Linked DNA regions of Homo sapiens: regions 1, 2 and 3 are each linked to region 4. Evidence: promoter capture Hi-C in human tissues and cell types (Jung and others, 2019). All regions are on one chromosome and are shown on one strand. The core of a region is centred on a gene start or on the middle of the fragment in contact, and the rest is flanking DNA. Distances in the headings are between cores, read along the strand shown. Region 1 overlaps LINC01173 (long intergenic non-protein coding RNA 1173). Region 2 has its middle 200 kb from the start of SH3BP4. Region 3 has its middle 130 kb from the start of SH3BP4. Region 4 holds the start of SH3BP4 (SH3 domain binding protein 4).

The links. The method cuts DNA at HindIII sites, captures the fragments that hold promoters and counts their contacts. A contact is called where the count stands out against the background at its distance.
Region 1: a contact is called between a fragment that was not itself captured here and the fragment with the promoter of SH3BP4 in region 4, in 2 of the 25 tissues and cell types used here (IMR-90 fibroblasts and mesenchymal stem cells).
Region 2: a fragment that was not itself captured here is called in contact with the fragment with the promoter of SH3BP4 in region 4 in 1 of the 25 tissues and cell types used here (bladder).
Region 3: a fragment that was not itself captured here is called in contact with the fragment with the promoter of SH3BP4 in region 4 in 1 of the 25 tissues and cell types used here (thymus).

What each region holds. Positions count from the first base shown.
Region 1 is chr2:234,704,140-234,707,550 of GRCh38, forward strand. The region is part of intron 2 of LINC01173 (long intergenic non-protein coding RNA 1173); the gene reads left to right. Among named protein-coding and RNA genes, the nearest start is that of LINC01173, 23 kb to the left of the region's middle. The HindIII fragment of the contact is 4,554 bases long and covers 1-3,411 here.
Region 2 is chr2:235,147,734-235,151,414 of GRCh38, forward strand. No RefSeq gene overlaps it. Among named protein-coding and RNA genes, the nearest start is that of SH3BP4, 200 kb to the left of the region's middle. The HindIII fragment of the contact is 3,579 bases long and covers 1-3,489 here.
Region 3 is chr2:235,079,242-235,082,721 of GRCh38, forward strand. No RefSeq gene overlaps it. Among named protein-coding and RNA genes, the nearest start is that of SH3BP4, 130 kb to the left of the region's middle. The HindIII fragment of the contact is 8,690 bases long and covers 1-3,480 here.
Region 4 is chr2:234,949,975-234,953,416 of GRCh38, forward strand. It overlaps SH3BP4 (SH3 domain binding protein 4), which reads left to right and starts at 2,043. Exons shown (of 6, transcript NM_014521.3): 1 at 2,043-2,196. LOC105373938 (a long non-coding RNA gene) reads left to right here. Exons shown (of 7, transcript XR_007088132.1): 6 at 624-1,377; 7 at 1,465-1,825. RefSeq lists an enhancer at 2,496-3,145. The HindIII fragment of the contact is 19,834 bases long and covers 1-3,442 here.

The DNA of each region.
Region 1 (3,411 bases), core at 325-2,824, 250 kb before region 4:
GAAACAAGCTTCCAGAAAGGAATGCACAGATGAATGTCGTTAACAAGGCAGGCCAAATGTTTTGAGTTCAGAAGTATTTTTTCTTTCTTTTTTTTTTTTTTTTTTTTGAGACGGAGTCTTGCTCTGTCGCCCAGGCTGGAGTGCAATGGCACGATCTCATCACACTGCAACCTCCGCCTCCCAGGTTCAAGCAATTCTCTTGCCTCAGCCTCCTGAGTAGCTGGGATTACAGGCACGCGCCACCATGCCTGGCTACATTTTGCATTTTTAATAGAGACAGGGTTTCACCATGTTGGTCAGGCTGGTCTCAAACTCCTGACCTTGTGATCCACCTGCCTCGGCCTCAAAGTGCTGGGATTACAGGCGTGAGCCATCACACCCAGCCAGAGTTCAGAAGAATTTTAACCCAGTAACTGAATTTTCTTTTTACAAATGTAATGATCTTTAAGGTAGATGGTGTGGTAGCAGGGGGTTCTGGGAGGTTTGGCTTAATAATATGGAATATCAAAATGAGGGGAGAAACTGAATAAGGGTGTGTTTATGCTTACATTAATTATTTGTAAGTGTATCTATATAGCTTTAAATAACTCAAGTTGTTTTTCTTTTCTTATTCAAATACCACGAAATCCAAAAGCTATGAATTCTCTGAAATATGGACTAATGCTTAGAATGTTACACCTTCCTTTCCCCTTCCAAAGTGTCGTTACTACTTTGATAGAAGCTGTAGGCACAGGCTTCATAAGTATAATCATATCACTTTCATTCATAGCCAAGAAAAAATTGAGCTTCTTATTGAGAGTACATGTCACTAAGAATCCAGCTTCTGCAGAGGGGGCAGGGGGAAGGTTTTCTGCTTAGTCCCAAATTGCTTTGGCCATGATTGGATTTCAGTGTGAAAAATTGAGGCAGCCTGTTCAGGGTGAGATAGGAGGAAGAGAATGTGGAGCCGCTAGTTGCTGAGCAGCTGTGAGACAGTCAGCATACAGGCCATGCCTCATTTTCCCATCTACAACCAGGGGTGATTGCAGTATGTGGCATCCAAATGCTGACCACTCTACAGCTTCCACCCTGCGGTCTCAACAGTACTGGGGACCTGAGAACAAGACAGAGGTGAGCCTGGTACAAAGCTTCAGCCACACACCTACTCATCTATGCTGTCATACTCACTTGGCCCTAGCCAGAACCACAGATGACATCATCCCGGGTAAATTAGCATTATTTCCACCATTACTCACCTCTGCCTGCCCTCTTGCCTTCTCTTCTAGGAAGTTACGTATCTGAAAGTGGTAATTAATGCAAGTGAGAGATCTGGTCACTTAAATGTGTGTGGCACCTCTCCCCTCTCCTCTTCCTCCTGCTCTAGCTATGTGAGACGTGCCTGCTTCCCCTTTGCCTTCCGCCATGATTGTAAGTTTCCTGAGGCCTCACTAGAAGACACTATGCTTCCCGTACAGCCTGCAGAACCATGAGCCAATTAAACTTCTTTTCTTTATAAATTACCCAGTCTCAGATATATATATATATATATTTTTTTTTCTTTTTTTTGTGTGTGAGACAGAGTCTTGCTCTGTCCCCCAGGCTGGAGTGCAGTGGTGCCATCTCGGCTCACTGCAAGCTCCGTCTCCTGGGTTCACGCCATTCTCCTGTCTCAGCCTCCTGAGTAGCTGGGACTACAGGCGCCCACCACCATGCCCGGCTAATTTTTTGTATTTTTAGTAGAGATGAGGTTTCACCGTGTTAGCCAGGATCAGTCTCAGATATTTCTTTATAGCAATGCAAGAATGGACTAATACACATGCTTACTTTCAAAAACTTAAATATATGAAAAGTATAAGAAAAAAATTAAAAGGATGGATACTCCCAAAGTAAGAAGATCATCTTTCTTTACATGTTGATGCACTTTCTTGTAGCCTTTGGTCTAAACAGGCCTCTCAAACATCGCTGGGTCCTCCTTGTACATGGGTTCTCAGGAGGTACCAGCACTATTTGTTCCCCAATTCTCCTCGCTCATTTACTCTCACTCTCCCATTCTCCCCAGTTGATTTTGGGCATCCACAAGGGGCTCTCACACAGGGGAAGAAGTGACTTTCACACCAGTCATCTTGTGATTTCTAGGGCACAAGCAACACTCCTCAGCACCACGGCCACTGCCATCCAAGAAGACATCACCCCCCTTCACCAAAGAGCCCCTATAGCAGCCCCAAACCGGCAAGGGCCAAGCAGAACTGTGCTTTCTTCAGGCCCTACTCAATCATGGCCCAAGTCTATAGTTCTGCAGGAGAGGGAAAAAACATCCCTTGTCCCAATTTATTTTGAATTTTGTCATCTGTCTTTGGAAAAATAGTCTCATAAATTTTACCTTGCACTCCTCCCTCCCCAGTTCCCCCTTCAAAGGCCTTGCCAGTTACTCAGGAAAGGAGACACATACTTGAGAAGTGGGGTGTTGGGGTAGGGGGCAGGGATGCCACCAGCTCCACAGTCAATCTCTTTACTTCTTTTTAAATATATTCTTAATTGACAAATAATAATTATATATATTTATAGGGTACAATGTAATGTTTTGATTATATATACATTATGGAATGAATTAATCCAGCTAATTAACATATCACTTCACATACTTATTTTGTTGTTGTGAAACATTTAAAATCTGTTCTTGGCTGGGCACAGTGGCTCATGCCTGTAATTCCAACACTTCAGGAGGCCAAGAAGGGAGGGTCACTTAAACCCAGGAGTTCAAGACCAGCCTGGGCAACACAGTGAAACCCCACCTCTACAAAAGAATACAAAAATTAGCCGGGTGTGGTGGTGTGCAGTTGTAGTCCCAACTACTCAGGAGGCTGAGGTGGGAGGATTGCTTGAGCCCAGGAGGTTGAAGGTGCAGTGAGCCGAGATTGCACCACTGCATTCCAGCCTGGGTAACAGAGTGAGACCCTGTCTTCAAAAAAAAAAAAAAAAAATCTTTGAACAACTTTGAAATGCACATTGCATTATTAACTATAGTCACCGTGCTATGCAATGGATCGCAAAAGCTTATCCCGTGCTGAAACTTTGTGCCCTTTGAGCAGCCTCTCCATACCCACCCACACCCAGCCCCTGGTCTCTACCTCTGTGAGTTTGGCTTTTTCAGATTCCACATATTAAGTGAGATCATGCAGTATTTGTCTTTCTGTGCCTGGCTTATATCACTTAACATAATGTCCTCCCGGTTCATCCATGTTGTCACAAATGACAACATTTGTGAATAGTATTCCATGACGTATATATACCACATTTAGTGGTACATCAACATACATTTAGTTTGTTTTCATATCTCAGCTATTGTGAATGACACTGCAATGAACATAAGAGTGAAGATATCTCCTCAACGTGTTGATTTCACTGTCTTTGGATACATACCCAGTAGTGGGA
Region 2 (3,681 bases), core at 450-2,949, 200 kb after region 4:
CTGATGTGGCTGGATGAACTCCCTGGAAGTAGAGGTGGGGCCGGCACAGGGCACCATATGCTGGCTCCCATGATGGCATGCATGGCTTCAGAGTCCTGAGGGGCACTGGTTAAGCTGTTTCCACAGCAACACCCAGGGCTCACCAAAATTCACCCATTCTAAGTGTACAGCTCAATGAGTTTTTTGACAGTATACAGTATATAGTCACGCAACCACCACTTTCTATATTCAAGAAATAGAATGTGTCCGTTCTTGGGAAAAGCCCCTTGTGCCTCTTGGTGGTCCTCCCTTCCCCTCTGCTCCCAGGCAACCACCGCTCTGCTTTCTGTCTCCGTAGTTTTGCCTTCCCTAGAGAAGTGAAATCACACAATTAGACACTCTTTCACTTAACAAAGTGTTGCTGTGTATCAGAAGTGTGTTTCTGTTCACCTTTGGGTAATATTCCATTACATGTTGATACCATCATTTGTTTTTCTGCTCCTCAGTTGATAGATATTTGTGTGGTTTCCTATCTTCGGCTATTATAAAGGAAGCTGCTACAAACATTTTGCGTATGACTCTCTGTGTGTTCGTTTGCTTTAATTTCTCTTGGATAAATACCTAGGAATAGACTTGCTAGGTCATGTGTCAGTGTATGTTAAACTTTATAAGCAAGTGCATAACTGTAAAAGTTATATAGATGACACATGGCTACTCACATTTAAATTAAATAAAATAAAAATTTAAAGTCACTTCCTCAGTTGCAATTGCCACAGGTCAGGTGCTTCTCACTAGCCACATGCAAATATGTATGGGATAGCACAGCATGGAATATTTACATCATACAGGAAACTTCCATTGGACAGCACTGGTACAGAATTTAATATATTGGGTTTCAGAACAGAAATACTTGTATTGATTTGGGCAAAGGATATTTTACAAAGCCATGGATAGCCTTTCTCACTATTGTTTATATGAACAATAAGACGCTTGCCAAGTCTAGGCAAAGAGGAAGCATCCCATCTTGTGTTAGCTTTGTGGAAAAAAATATTAGGAGCAGCCCAAGGACCAAAGCATCTGACAGCCTGAAGAAGTGATTGTTCATCCCGTCACAGCTGGCTGTCCATGTGGGGATACCACCCACAGGGACCCAATTTCCTCCAGACCTTGGCAAACTCCTGTCGACAGCTCCAAGACCCAAGGACTCCATAGAATGGAGAGGGGGCTCTGCTCACGGCTGGGAAAATGCCAGGGGCCCCATGACAGGTGACATAATGAACTGATTGGAATCATTATCTCAGAAATAAGCTTTCTCCATTGCTTCTCAGATGGTGTCTTCATTCATCACTGATAAGAAAGGACATGGAGCCCAGCTGAGAGAGTACAAGTCACCCATCCACCTTCACACCTTCAAGGCTTCCAGTTCCAGCATCCTTGACTCTGTTTATGGATGAAGACCTTAGGATTTGGCAAATAGAATTTTTTTTCTGACCATGGTCCAGATGGGCTTGTTTTACCTTGGCTTTTTTACATGCGGTTCCAATTTCCTGGCAGCTGGGGCTACTGGTGAGGAATCAGGACCCAGGACAATCAGGGGCATTGACTGTGGGCATGGTTCAGTTTCTTGTGTGTGGTCTCGCTCAAGAAGGGAGGGCACATCACTACAGAAGGGTTTTTTGTTACCTCTGGGGCAATGTTGTGTTTTGTGAAAGAAAGTATTTTAACCACACATTTGAACAAAGCTGGCAAAACAATAGTTCCTCTTGTGGTCTTCCATTAATCTTCTTTTATGTAAGGAGAAAATCGGATGCCTTAATGATGTCATCATTTGGCCTGGAAAAGAACCAATGGAGTTAAAGGGCCCCATTGTTTCCCTGACACAGTGGTGGAAGAGGAAGAGGCATTTGCTTTTACTGTTCCAGAGAGAAGAGGGCACGTCTGCAGCCCACCACCCATAAACACGCTGGAATCTTAACACTGGGAGGATTCGCCAGGAGGGCTTTGTGGACATAGTCTTCATTTCCACAGAGGCTCCTCCATCTGTCATCTGCTTTCTTGTCACCCCCCAAATAAAAAGAGCTCAAATTTGTTTATGGTAAGTCTACTGGAAAGTCCCTTCCCATAACCCTTCACTCTATGGTTCCTTTCTCTCTTCACCTTTGGTGGAAAAGTGAATTAGGGCAATAAAGCAATAAAGCCATCTTCTGAGAGGTGTCAGTCAGCCAGGGAAAATGTGGGTGTGTTGTAGATACTTTGCAGGAAGAAGCTGGATGGTGTGACAAGCCCATTTTGGGGGAAGAGTATCAGGGTTAACTGCTGCCCTTCCGGGGCAATTCTGCAAAACTAAAATCTCCATGGACTTTCTGAGCAAGGGTTCCTGGGGCAAGGGATGAGAAAGAGAAGACAGATGTGGCAGAAAAAGAGAGGGACACCAAATCATGTAGACAGGAGACTCCCAGGCACCCATCCAGATTTAACTCTGTGTGCACAAAAAGCTGCCTTGATGGCAAAGTGGCAGCTCACAAATGGCCCCACAGTGTGACTATTTACGTCCAGTCTCTACATGCCCTTGCAGAGACGATGTAACCAGCAGGGTTACATAATTGACTTTCAGTAGAGGATGCAAAAGTGATCCCAATGTTTTGCCCTTTCCTCCACTCATGCCTTTTGCAATGTGACTTTGCACTCTTTCCCTCAAGAGTTGGAGTTCATTTCTATGTTCCTTGAATCGAACTGGTCTTTTGGCTTGCTTTAGCCAACAGAGTGGGGTGGAAGCGACTGAGTTCTGAGTCTAGGCCTCAAGATGTTTTGTACAATTCTGCTGTCTCACTTGGACCCTTGCCTCTACCGTGAAAACAAGCCCAGGCTAAGTGGTTAGAAGGAGAGAGACTAAATGTATGTATGGAACAGAGAGAGGTGAATCTTCCTAGCTGAGACCAGGCTAGACCAGCTATCATCCAGCCTGCTTACAGATGTACCAACAAGTCCAGTGGAACCTGCCCAGGCAAACTCTAGGCTTGTAAGGAATCATGCATGATTGTTTCTTTAAGCCGCTAAGTTTTGGGGAGGTTTGTTACACAGCAGCAACTAACTGATAACTCTTTATAAGAGATATTGAGGGTAAAGAGATTATAGATGAGATAAAATCATGATAAAAGCCAAACGACAACAGCACTGGCTTGTGCATAAGCTGTGGATACCATGAAGCAGAGCCCTGGGGTGTGTCCTCCCAGGCTTGGGAACCAGTAGTTAGTGAGGTTGATTATGGCCCCCACCAGGATGGAAGAGGAGTGGGCTTTGGCCCTGGAATCTGACAGGAGCAGCAGGGAGGTCAAACTGCAAGGCACTCGAGCCTCTCCATCCAGCTTGGAAAAGAGCACTTTCTTTAGATCCTTGACTCAATCAACTCCCATCTCTAAAGCCAGCACTCAGACTGCTGTGAAAGTGAGCATTCTCTGGCTTCCCTACATTATGCAGCCAATCTGTAAACTAGATCATCAGCACTGGGCAATTTAAAGTTTACTATAAGAATAACAAGCATTTATTGAAACAGATGCAGACTATTAAACCACACCACTTAGAGAAAAGAGCTGTTTAACATTTTGGTGAGCTTCCTTCACACATCTCACAGTGTACAAACATACACATAGAGTTTTAATAAATGCAATCCTAAGATTCAAATTTATGTTTATTTTCCTAAAA
Region 3 (3,480 bases), core at 781-3,280, 130 kb after region 4:
TATGCTGTGTGTATGTGAGAGTGTGTGTGTGATGTGTGTGTGCATGTGCGAGTGTGTGTATGTGAGTGTGTGTATATGTGAGAGGGTGTGTGTGTGAGTGTGTCTGCATGCATGTGTGTGTGTCAGGCATTCGTGGATTGATGTAGCACAGTGGATTATCCAAATGGACTGAGAACAAGGCAGTTTCTCTGTGCACACGTGTGGTTGGCGCAACCTAGAGCAATGCCTTATGATGAGCATTTCTCGTTGAACCCCTTCTGCCTGTAGAACGGCTCTGGCAGCTGGCAGCCTCTGGTAGGCAGCTGACTGCCACCATGTCCATGCCAGCAGTTTGGGTCTTTACTAATGCAATTGATTCTGTGCATAATTAATCATTGAAAAAGTGAGCAACTCAAATTTAATTTCACTAAAAGTGCATCACAAAGCATGGGTATTAGGACCCCTGTCTCCAAAGAGATAGGTACGAATGAAATCTTCACATGTCTTTGACTGATATTTGAGTCACACTCACTTCAGTCCTGAATTTGCATCACTTTCTGAAAGACTTATAGTTTTATATGTTTCATTTTGTATATTTTTAATAGTTTATTGTTGACATATCACACAATTTATCCATTAAAAGTATACGATTGAATGATTTTTAGTATATCCACAAATATATGCAAGTACCATTACAATTTTAGAACATTTTCATCACCTCCAGAAGAAACCCCATAAGCTTTAGCTATCGAACTCTGCTCTCCCAGCTCCCTCCCCCGGCCCTAGGCAAACACTAATCTGCTTTCTGCCTCTGTAGAAATGTTCTGGACATTTCATATAAATGGAATCATATAATATGTGGTCTTTTGGGACTAGCATCTTTCACTTAGCATAACGTTTAATGTTTTTGAGATTCATCCATGCAGTAGCATGTGTTAATGCTTCCTTCTTTTCTAAACCTGAGTAACTTTGCACTGTATGTATTAATATATTCTGCATTTGTTTATCCATTCATCTGTTGACAGATACTTGGGTTACTTCTGCCTTTTGGCTATTGTGAGTAATGCTGCTATGAACTTGGGTGTGCAACTATCTCTCAGAGACTCTGCATTCTTTTCTTTTGAATATATACCCAGAAATGGAGTAGTTGAATCATATACTAATTCGATCTTTGTATTTTGGTGAAACTGCCACATTGTTTTCCATAGTGGCTGCACTGTTTTCTGTTTCCACCAACAGTGCACATGGGTTCAATTTCTCCACATTTTTGTCAGCACTTGTTATTATCTCACTTTGGTTCTAGCCATCCTAGTGGGTGTGAAGTGGCATCTCTTTGTAGTTTTGAAGACTCACCGGCATTTTCAACTAGCTACGTCCAAACAGAACTATCTTTTATCTCTCAAAATCTGCTTCTCTCCTTATGAGTCCCATTTACATCAAAGGCATTGGGATTCACCCACAAACCAGTGTGTGTTTCCAGCACCTTCTTTCTAATGTAGCACCCATGTCCATGCTTGACATTGTCACCCTGAGCCAGCCGTACTCTCAGCATGCTGGGTGTTGCATTAAGTTTTAAAAATCTATATTATGTATCTTTCATCATTTTTCTTCAATTACAATATACGCTCATTATTGAGAATCTGCAAAAGTATAAAGATGAAAATTTAAAATACCTCCCTCACCTAGGGAAAACAACGGACCAGTGAATTGACTTCCTAGTGTGGTTGCCATGTGTAAACACTCCACATGTATAACTTAAGAATAAACACTCTTTACCCCTGACTGAGGCAACTCTAAAGTATGAGCTCCCCTTCCTCTGGAGTTCTCCTGTGGGGTGGAGCCAAAGTTTGTATTAGCCCGTTTTCACTCTGCCATAAAGATACAATTCAAGATGAGATTTGGGAGGGGACATAGCCAAACCATATCATTTACCCTCCAGGGGATTTTGTTGGATATTGCTCCCCCCTACCTCCCATCCCTGGTGCCACTTCCCTTCCCCCACTAGTCTTTTCTGAGGCATGACTTGTTCCATCACCCTCATATGATCTGCTTCTCAACATCTGCTATAGGAAAGCCTGACACATCCTGATATGGTTTGGCTCTGTGTCTCCACCCAAATCTCATCTTAAATTGTAGCTCCCATAATTCCTATGTGTTGTGGGAGGGACCTGGTGGGAGATAATTGAATCATGGGGGCGATTTCCCCCATATTGTTCTCATGGTAGTGAATAATTCTCACAAGATCTGATGTTTTTATAAGGGGAAACCCCTTTCGCTTGGCTCTCATTCTCTTCTCTTGTCTGCCGCCATATGAGATGTGCCTTTCACCTTCTGCCATGATTGTGAGGCCTCCCCAGCCACGTGGAACTGTGAGTCCATTAAACCTCTTTGTTTTGTAAATTGCCCAGTCTTGAGTGTGTCTTTATCAGCAGCGTGAAAACGGACTAATACAGGTCTTTCCACATCTTTGCTAATCCAGGGTGACATTTAAAAACAATCTTTTAATATAAAACAATTTCAAGGTCGGGCGCGGTGGCTCACGCCTGTAATCTCAGCACTTTGGGAGGCTGAGGTAGGCAGATCACCTAAGGTCAGGAGTTCAAGACCAGCTTGTCCAACATGGGAAAACCCAATCACTACTAAAAATACAAAAATTAGTTGGGCATGGTGGCATGAGCCTATTAATTCCAGCTACTCTGTAGCCTGAGGCACAAGAATCGCTTGAACCCAGGAGGCGGTGGTTGCAGTGAGCTGAGATGGCACCACTGCCCTCCAGCCTGGGCAACAGAGAGAGACTCCATCTCAAAAAAAAAACAAAAACAAAAAACAAAACAATTTGAAGCATACACAAAAGTATAGAGAATAGTATAATGAACCCCTAGTGCCCATCACTCGTTCCAACAATTACCCACATTCTGTCCTTTGTGTTGCATCTGTCCTCCCAAAACTGTTTTGGCTTTTCTTCTGGCGCATGTACAACAAATTCCAGATGCCATATCATTCACTGAAAAATACTCCAGTGCTTCTCTCTAACAAAGAAATGATGAGTGCTTACATGCACACACACAGCACCATTCTTATATCCAAAAGATTCGTAATCATTCCTTAATATTATCTAATAACCAGTCTATCTTCAGTTTTCCTGATTGTTGTCTCGAAAGTGTCTTTTTCCGGTTCATTTGCGCTATTTATTGCTCTTAGCTGATATGTCTCTTAATTCTCCTGTGATCTTAACAGTTTCAACTCTTCTTCTGGTTTCTCCATGCCAGCTATGTGTTGGAAACAATCAGCTCATTTTCCAGGTCATTTATCTTACAGAATGTCTCGCTTTTGGATTGGGCTGGTTGAATCGTTGAGGAATCATTTAAGGCTGTCTTCCAACCCTCATATTTCCTGTGGATGGATAGTTAGATTTAGAGGCTCAATTTGGCTCAGGTTCTTCAATTTACAGACAATAAAACATTACAGGTGACACTAGAAACTTATTGCCGAGAGTCAAGA
Region 4 (3,442 bases), core at 793-3,292:
TGCTTTGTTTATTCATGTTCTATTCTGCGTTTCCATGGCACTTTGTTCTTTGTGGTTTTTAGGGTATCTTTCTCCCTCTCTGCTCAGTGAACTGAGCTGCCTGGACAGGCCTTGAGTTTTCTTATTCGATTGTTTTTTGTGTGTGTATGTTTTGCCTTAGCTCCCTCACTAGTATAGTCAAGGAGCTTTTCATGCTTTGAGCCATTTGTGGCATTTCAGGAATTACCTTCATAGCTTTTGTCCATTTTCTACTGGCTTGTCTTTTTCAATGTTTTTATAGGCATTTTTTAAAAAACACAGTGTGGATGTCATTTGGGATAGCAGTACTAATAGTAGCTAAAACTTACTGAAAGCTACTGTGTGCCAGGCAGTCTGCTGAGCACTTTACATGCTGCCTTTCATTTTTACACTCATTTAGGAAACTGAGTCACAGAGAGGCGAGATAACTTGCCAGAGATTCAAGCACACTCCAGACACATCCCTACACCAATCAGACCTCCTAGCCACCCAGAAACTCTCCTCTGCTCGGAGGCTTCTCTGCTTCCTCCACCTGCCCCTTCGCCTCACTGCCTCCTTTCAAAATCTGCGGCATGTATTTTAGGGATACTCGTATCCATTTTCAGGAATTCCATGATCTACACACAGATGACACCAAAATCGGAACAGCAATGTCCACCCTTCTCCCGAGCCCTAGGTCGGTGCCTCTGTCCACCTGTGTCTCCTGAAACTTCAACACAGACTTCAAATGGAGTGGCAGAAAACCAGATTCCTTAGGGAAAGGAAGGTCTCCCAGACGGCAGGAGCGGCAGGCCTTAGGGGCAGCCGCAGGGGCTCGGGAGTCTGAACATACCCGGTTTGAATTCAGACTCTGGCACGCCCCATGCGATCATAACATAGTGCTGCACGTCTCAAGCCACCTATAAAAACGGGGACAATAACAATATCTGCCTCGGGGTTAATGGTGAGGACTGACTGTGTGTGTCTCGCTCAGGACCAGGAGCAACAAATGTTGGCTTCTTCCCCGGCAAAGACCCGCGCTTTCTCCTGGGCTCCGGGTTCCCGGGGTGGGGGTGGGCGCAGTCCCGAGGGCCCCAGGCAGTGGCGCAGTGGTTAGACCCCAGCCTCTGGAGTCGGCCTCGGTTCAGATTCTGGTTCTACCCTTCTCCTCTGTGGCGAACCAACCCTCCGAGCTCTAGTTTACTCGTGTGAAATGGACTAGCCAAAATTGGGATTTTTTTTTTTTTTTAGGATTAGATGTGTCGGTCCATAGACGTTGCTGGCCACATAGTTAAGTGGTGCGTTCACTCACTGGGCATTGATGGAGCGCCTACTACGTGCCAGGCCTGTTTTACGCGCCGGGGGCCCAGAGGCGCCCAGGTCAGACAAAGTGTAAACGATTCCGACCAGAGCCCTTCAATCTGCATTCCGCTTCGCAGGAAACTCTCCTCCTTTTATGATTTTCAGCCGGACTGCCTTCCCTGTTGTTAGTTTGTAACTTTCGCTCCGGCCCCCGCAGCCTCGCGCCTGCCTTCCCTCCACTGTCCTCAGCCAAGGTGTAGTAAAGCGTCTCCGAACGCGGCGCGACCCTCGCCCACGCCCGCTCGCGGGGGGACCGCACCGCCCCAGGGGTCCTCGCTAGGGGTTCCCGGAGAAGGGGTGGGAGATGGGGGTGCGGGGGGGCACAGGAGCGCGGGCCAGCACCCAGACCTGCTCGGTACCGGGGACCCAGACCCGAGGATGCCGGGCGGCCAAGGCCCCGCTACCCTGGCCGGCTCCGGGCGGAGGAAGAAGAGGAGGCGCCCAGACTGGATACCCGCCTGGACCCGGAGCCGCGGCACCACCCCCAGCCCGCCCCACGCTCGCCAGCCTCAGACGGCCGCGCCCCGCCCCGCCCCTCTCCCGAAGCCCCGCCCCGGCGCGGGACCACCCCCTCCGCGGCCTCAGCTCCGGTCCTGGCCCCGCCCCCCGCGCCCCCGCCCCCGCCCCCGCCCCCGCCCCCGCCCAGGCGCGGGACCACCCTCCGCCCGCCGAGGCGGGGGCCCAGCGCGCCCGGCACTCTCGGCGGTCCGGGCCCCTCGCCACTACCGCCGCCGCCGCCGCCGTGAGTCCCGCGGAGCCGCGCGCGCCCCCGGCTGGGCCGAGCCGCTGGCCGACGAGCGGAGCCTCAGGAGCCGGCGGGGACGCCATGCGAGCCAGGTAGGCAGGCGGCGGCGGGGAGCGCCTCGGGCGGCAGGGCCCTGGGGGCCGGCGGGGGCGCGGGGTCGTGCTCGGGGGCTTTGCACTCCCTTGCGGGCGCAGATCGTGCCGCGGGCGCCGATCGTGCCACCGCCGCCTGAGTTCGGGGCTGCGCGGGTGCCTGGGCGTGGGGCGGCTTCGGGGAAGCCTCGCGCGCCCCTCGCCGCTCCCCCGGGCGCTCGGGTCTCCCTGGTGCTGGTGGGCAGGGACCCGGCCCGGGGTTCCGGGCGCCGAGCCGCAGCCCTCCGCGTGCGCTCGGGCCGCCCCCCAACCCCGGCTCTGGCCACTTCCCGGCGGGCGGCCCTGCGGGGTGGCCTCCCTGGGCAACCGGACGCGTCCTCGGGCGCAAATCGGGGGGCGCGCTCGGCTCACGGGGGCCGTGGGGGCCACGGGAGGGCGTGGAGGGGTCGGGGCGCCCCCCTCGAGCGGCGCTGGGGAGGAGGGAAGGACGCGCGGTCTCCGGTTAAACTTGTTGGTGACAATGCATATTTCAACTTCTTCGGAGATCCCTCCTGTGAGGATGAAATTGAAAACTCCGGTTTCTGGCTTGGCGATCGGGTGACCGAGCAGCCGCGAGGTGACAGCGCCGGCGGCCCGCGGGCGGGGACCGGCTGGGATAGAGGCGCGTTGTTCTCTGAGCGATGTTTACCGAGAAGCCCGCTCCGCGGCACGGGCGGGTGTCAGTTGGGACCCCAACCCTGGGTCCCGCGGCTCCTAGCCCGGGGCCTGCGGTGTAGACGGGGGTTGGGGACAGGCCCAGCTGGCCCTGACCGGGTGTCGGGCGCCCAGAGATGCCGCGCGGGAGGAGCCGCGGGAGAGCCGCCGGACTCAGCGAGCAGAGGGTCGTGGAGCCTGATGGATCGATGAGATCTGAAAAAGAACACTGTGCGAGATTGTATTCCTGCTTATTCTTTCCAAGTTAGTAGGCAGATTGGAACTATAGAATTTATCCGTGATAATAATAAAGTTCGCATAACTTTTGTTCTGATTACAGAAACAATGTATGCTCAGGACAGAAAGCTAGAGATAAAGAGAAATATAAACAGCAAACAGGAAACCATCCCCAATCCCACATTTTTTACCAGCCTTGTCACAGCCTGGCAGATTTGAACATTAAGTTAGAACTGGAGCCATTCTTGCCTAAACCAGAGAATCCCTGAATGCAGCCGCCCCTTCTCACCCTTGTGACCGTCTCTGAGCTCCAAAG